Regions from separate parts of the Homo sapiens genome. Here region 1 is linked to region 2. Evidence: promoter capture Hi-C in human tissues and cell types (Jung and others, 2019). All regions are on one chromosome and are shown on one strand. Each heading gives the region's core, a stretch centred on a gene start or on the middle of the fragment in contact. The rest is flanking DNA. Distances are from core to core; before and after follow the strand shown.

What was found. Contacts are between HindIII fragments. The study calls those that stand out against the background at their distance.
Region 1: a contact is called between a fragment that was not itself captured here and the fragment with the promoter of MCM2 in region 2, in 1 of the 25 tissues and cell types used here (stomach).

What each region holds. Positions count from the first base shown.
Region 1 is chr3:129,299,980-129,302,876 of GRCh38, forward strand. HMCES (5-hydroxymethylcytosine binding, ES cell specific) reads left to right here. Exons shown (of 7, transcript NM_020187.3): 6 at 1,971-2,163. Among named protein-coding and RNA genes, the nearest start is that of H1-10-AS1, 15 kb to the right of the region's middle. The HindIII fragment of the contact is 3,010 bases long and covers 1-2,819 here.
Region 2 is chr3:127,596,961-127,599,660 of GRCh38, forward strand. It overlaps MCM2 (minichromosome maintenance complex component 2), which reads left to right and starts at 1,451. Exons shown (of 16, transcript NM_004526.4): 1 at 1,451-1,512; 2 at 2,358-2,587. The coding sequence starts at 1,507. It also overlaps a transcript of TPRA1 not described here. RefSeq lists enhancers at 1,129-2,086, 1,440-1,559 and a silencer at 1,590-1,749. The HindIII fragment of the contact is 12,111 bases long and covers 1-2,700 here.

The DNA of each region.
Region 1 (2,897 bases), core at 65-2,564, 1.7 Mb after region 2:
CATCACTGATGTGGACTCCTTGATATCCTTTGCTCAGGAAATAATCACATGTTCTCATTTTTCTTCCAGGATCTTTTACTATTTCAAGCTTCTTTTCAATATTTAAAATGTCTCCATTCACATGCATTGCCTACCATGTTTTGAGCCAGGAAGCTTAGACATGTTTGAGATGTTAAATGTGCATCTTTATATATATATATATATATATATATAGAAAAGTTCAGAAAGGCAAAAGAAGAGCAAAACACAATTTTGTAAAATAGTATGCAGTGAGCCAAAGTAGCAGTCAGTGTTTGAGATGGGTGCATTTTGTGGCTCAGTTCATCTGGGTGCAGTTTTCTGTGTTCACCTTGTGTTTCTCACAGATGAAACTGTGCATAAGCAAACACAAAATTTGCATTGTGCTCCAATTGCTCTCTACTGTATCAGTGGCATTGGAACAGATTTGCATTTTAAACATAAGCATTGGCAGAACTGACTATACTTGTATTCTACCTTTATACTTTCTGCCAGAGCTGAGTACTCCCTGAAGTGATTTTTTGGAGTTCTCCTGAAAAGAATGCAGTGTGACACCTGTCAGGATTACCTGCTTTAGCCTTGTCCTAGGCTATATCTGTGAAAATATGCTTTCATGTGGCCAGGCGCAGTGGCTCACACCTGTAATCCCAGCACTTTGGGACGCCGAGGTGGGTGGATCACGAGTTCAGGAGATCAAGACCATCCTGGCGAACACTGTGAAACCCCATCTCTACTAAAAATACAAAAAAATGGCCAGGCGCGGTGGCTCACACCTGTAATCCCAGCACTTTGGGAGGCTGAGGCGGGTGGATCATGAGGTCAGGAGATCGAGACCATCCTGGCTAACACGGTGAAACTCTGTCTCTACTAAAAAATACAAAAAATTAGCCAGACGTGGTGGCGGCTGCCTGTAGTCCCAGCTACTTGGGAGGCTGAGGCAGGAGAATGGCGTGAACCCGGGAGGTGGAGCTTGCAATGAGCCGAGATCATGCCATTGAACTCCAGCCTGGGCAACACAGTGAGACTCCATCTCAAAAAAAAAAAATTAGCCGGGCATGGTGGTGGGTGCCTGTAGTCCCAGCTACTCAGGAGGCTGAGGCAGAAGAATGGCATGAACCCGGGGGGTGGAGCTTGCAGTGAGTGGAGATCACGCCACTGCACTCCAGCCTGGGCAACACAGCAAGACTCTGTCTCAAAAAAAAAAAAAAAGAAGAAAAAAAAAAAAATATGCTTTCATGTGATGTAGTTCTCTTTTAGTAATTAACCTTTAAAAATTATATTTCATTTAATCTAAATCACCATTCATTTAAAAATGTACCATTATTTTATACATTACAGTATTTAACATTATTTTATATGTTATGTATATATTTAGGAGACAAATGAACATTTGTCTGTATCTGAATCAACTGTACCACCCAAAAAGTGTGTGCCACACTGCATTGGCCTGGGACATAAAACTGGAAGCTAAACCTAGTATATTTTCCTTACATCCTCTGGGTACCAGGAGTCATGTTTGACAGCTTCTCTGCTTTTCTGACGCATGGCTTCCTTTTGTTCACAATTTTCTTACTGTAAGTCTTTCAGAGGTGGTGAGGCTTGAGATTGCTGTTGATAGACAAGTTTTCAAGATCTATTTTCCCTTCATTCTAGGCTGGGGTGTCATAGAAAGTTTACCAATTTACTAGAGTGGACACTGGAGTACACTAGACCAGTTAGTACTCTTCACTGTCTTTGCCATGAAACTTTATAACATGGCTCTCCAGGTGTTGAATCTGGTGCCCTGTCACCCTGTGCTCAGGGAACACATGGCAGCAATCAGCATGTGAGGCGCAGAGGGAGGGCAAGCTCCCCTTGTGATATTTGAGGTATCAGCTGACTCAAGTCTCTCTCCCTTCTCTCCTTATTCTCATGCTACCTCTCCCAACCATTGTCTTAACTTCCCTGGCCAGGATGCCTGCCATATTAGATGGAGAGGAGGCAGTTTCTAAATGGCTTGACTTTGGTGAAGTCTCAACTCAGGAAGCTCTGAAATTAATCCACCCAACAGAGAACATCACCTTCCATGCAGTCTCTTCTGTGGTGAACAACTCGCGAAACAACACTCCTGAGTGTCTGGCTCCTGTCGACTTGGTGGTCAAAAAGGTAGGGGCCTGTGACTGGTACAGTCCTTTTTGAGCTTTCTGTCTTCTGTCAGTGTTCTCTTTCTTTCAGGATGTGGCCTTTTATGATCAGCCCTTTAATTTGGACCATCAAAAGCTCTCATACTCCTTGTACACAGCAAGGTAGTGTAGAGCAGCAATTCTCAAACCTGGCTGTGACTCAGAGTCCCCAGGAGAAGAACTCTTTCAAAATGTAAATGCTAGACCCTATCTAGACATCCTGAATCAACATTTAGAGCTAGGCTTGGACTTTTGTATAATTAAGAAGCTTCAGGCTGGGCGCAGTGGCTCACGCCTGTAATCCCAGCACTTTGGGAGGCCGAGGCAAGTGGATCACGAGGTCAACAGATCGAGACCATCCTGGCCAATATGGTGAAACCCCGTCTCTACTAAAAATACAAAAATTAGCTGGGTGTGGTGGCCCGTCCCAAGTAGTGATCCCAGCTACTTGGGAGGCTGAGGCAGGAGAATCACTTGAACCTGGGAGGTGGAGGTTGCAGTGAGCCTAGATTGGGCCACTGCACTCCAGCTTGGTGACAGGGCGAGACTGCGTTTCAAAAAAAAGAAGCTTCAGCTGGGTGCAGTGGCTCATGCCTGTAATGCCAGCACTTAGAAGGCAGAGGTGGGAGGGTAGCTTTACCTGAGGAGTTCCAGACCTGCCTGGGCAATATAGTGAGACCCCGTTCTCCACAAAAAGGAAAAAAAAAAAAGCTTCTT
Region 2 (2,700 bases), core at 201-2,700:
CAAAAATTAACCGGGCACAATGGCGTGCATCTCTAATCCCAGCTACTCGGGAGGCTAAGGCACGAGAATCGCTTGAACTTGGGAGGTGGAGGTTGCAGTGAGCTGAGGTTGCACCACTGCACTCCAGCCTGGGTGACAGAGTGACTCTGTCTCAAAAAAAAAAAAAAGATTCCACCTCCTAAACATCTTGTATTTCCAGTTCTCTCCATCACTCCTGCCTCCCTACCCTGGGTCCCAGGCAGAGATGCTTGTTCACTGCACAAAGTGCCTGGCTAAGAGGGTTGCGATTCAGCCCTGCCTCTGCTCACTAAGGCTGCCTGGAACTAGACAAGAACCACAGCAACCTCCTCGTTTGCTGCCTTCAACCTCGTTCAATCCACTTCCACCTGGTAGCAGCCAGAGGGATTCTAAAACCCACACTAGTTCACGTCTCACCCTGCTCAAAATGCTTCCATGGCCTTCCATTGCTTTCAGAATACAGAATAGTCAAACTCTCTAGAAAAACATCTAGCTCTTTTTTGATCCGGATTTTCTCTCCCTCAAGTCTTGTCTGTTGCCCGGCATCATAAGCTCCTAGGGTTAGTTCTTAGGGAGGGGCTTGCACATCCGGGCCCTGCCATGACCTCTGCAGCTTTGCACATGGCATCCTTCTATCTGTAACATCCTCCCTGCGTCTTCGCTCCCCTGGGCAAAGATAACTCCTACTAAAGCCTCAGATGTGACCTCCTACAAAATCCCAGAGTTGTCCAGCTGCTTGAAGTATTGAGCCTTTGAGCTTTGGGAGAAGTTAAACCATTGTGCTCCTAAGACGGTAAGAAGCGTCAGAAAACCAGGCTCTGAACCTCTGCTGTCTTTTTTTTTTTTTGAGACGGAGTCTCACTCTGTCACCCAGGCTGGAGTGCAGTGGCGGGATCTCGGCTCACCGCAACCTCCACCTCCCAGGTTCAAGCGATTCTTCTGCCTCAGCCTCCCGAGTAGCTGGGATTACAGGCCCGTGCCACCATGCCCAACTAATTTTTGTATTTTTAGTAAAGACTGGGTTTCACCATGTTAGTCAGGCTGGTCTCGAACTCCTGAGCTTGTGATCCGCCCACCTCGGCTTCCCAAAGTGCTGGGATTACAGGCGTGAGCCACCGCGCCCGGCCTCTGTTGTCTTGTCAGCAAAATGGCCCTGGTGTGACCGAGGTCACGCAGCCAGCAAGTGTCGTCGGGTCCCCTGGAGCCTCAGCTTCTACCTCCGCTCCAGCTCCCACCACAGCGCAGGCGAGCGCACGCGCACAGCGCCGGGCCGCACACCTCCGGGCTCTGGGCGGAGCGCCTCGGGCGTTGTAGGCGGGACCGGACCCTCTGGCCCGCCCCTCCGTGTCCCTTCTGGTCGCCAGTGGACGCCGACGTCATGACGTCGCGTTCCGTAGGGCTCTTCCCGGGCTTTGGTGGGTCACGTGAACCACTTTTCGCGCGAAACCTGGTTGTTGCTGTAGTGGCGGAGAGGATCGTGGTACTGCTATGGCGGTGAGCGCGCTGGCGCGTGGCGGGCGGGCGCCGGGGACATGGGTGCGGAGGCTGCGCGCTTCCCGTACTCTGGCCCCGGCCCAGGGCGGCGCTCTGGGTGAGGCTGGGCCCCAGGCTCTGGGGCGCAGCTACTTTCTCGCCTGCACCCTGCGTGAGGCGACTCGCCTACCTACCACTGACCTGGGGCCCTGGGCTCCCTAAGGCGAGCTCGGCCCGTTCAGCCTCTGTCCTTTATTCACCCCACACATACTTATTGGGCGCCATCTGTGTGGCGCTGAGCGTACAAAAGACAGGCCCCCATTTCACTACACTCCTTTAAACTTTTTTTTTTTTTAATTTCCCAATGATCCTTGTTCCAAACACTACACTTACTTTTGTATTACCTTCTTGTCCCTTTGTCTTGTATACTGTCTGTTCCACATCTGAGTTCCAGACCTCTTGTTTTGGTGGCTCTTCTATGCCATCTCTATCACAATACCTTGCGCACTGTGTGTGCTGAAATAGGTCTAATGCTTAAGGGGAGATAATAGACAGTAAACAGGTAAATAGGCAAATGACATAACCTCAGTGGTTTTTCATGGAGAAAGCACGGTGATGTGGGTGACCCCGATATTTGAGCTGGCTTCTATTTGTTTGGAAGCCACTGACTCAGATTGCTCAGCTGAGAGCATTCCAGGTGAGAGAACAGCAAGGGCAAAGATCTGGAGGCTGGAAGGGGTTTGGTGTGTTGGAGGACAAGAGTCACAGGTGGAGAGAAAGAAGGGAAGGCCCCTGATGGTAAAAAGGAAGCTGTATCATGCCTCACCAGCTTCCTAGGTTTCTGACAACCGCACCTTCTCTTGCAGGAATCATCGGAATCCTTCACCATGGCATCCAGCCCGGCCCAGCGTCGGCGAGGCAATGATCCTCTCACCTCCAGCCCTGGCCGAAGCTCCCGGCGTACTGATGCCCTCACCTCCAGCCCTGGCCGTGACCTTCCACCATTTGAGGATGAGTCCGAGGGGCTCCTAGGCACAGAGGGGCCCCTGGAGGAAGAAGAGGATGGAGAGGAGCTCATTGGAGATGGCATGGAAAGGTAATTTCATTCAAGGCCCTGGACTCAGCAGATAGTTTTGCAGAGAGCCCATTGTGTGCCTGGTGGCCTGGCTTTGGGAGCTGGGAGCAGATGAATCGATGGCATTCTTGCCT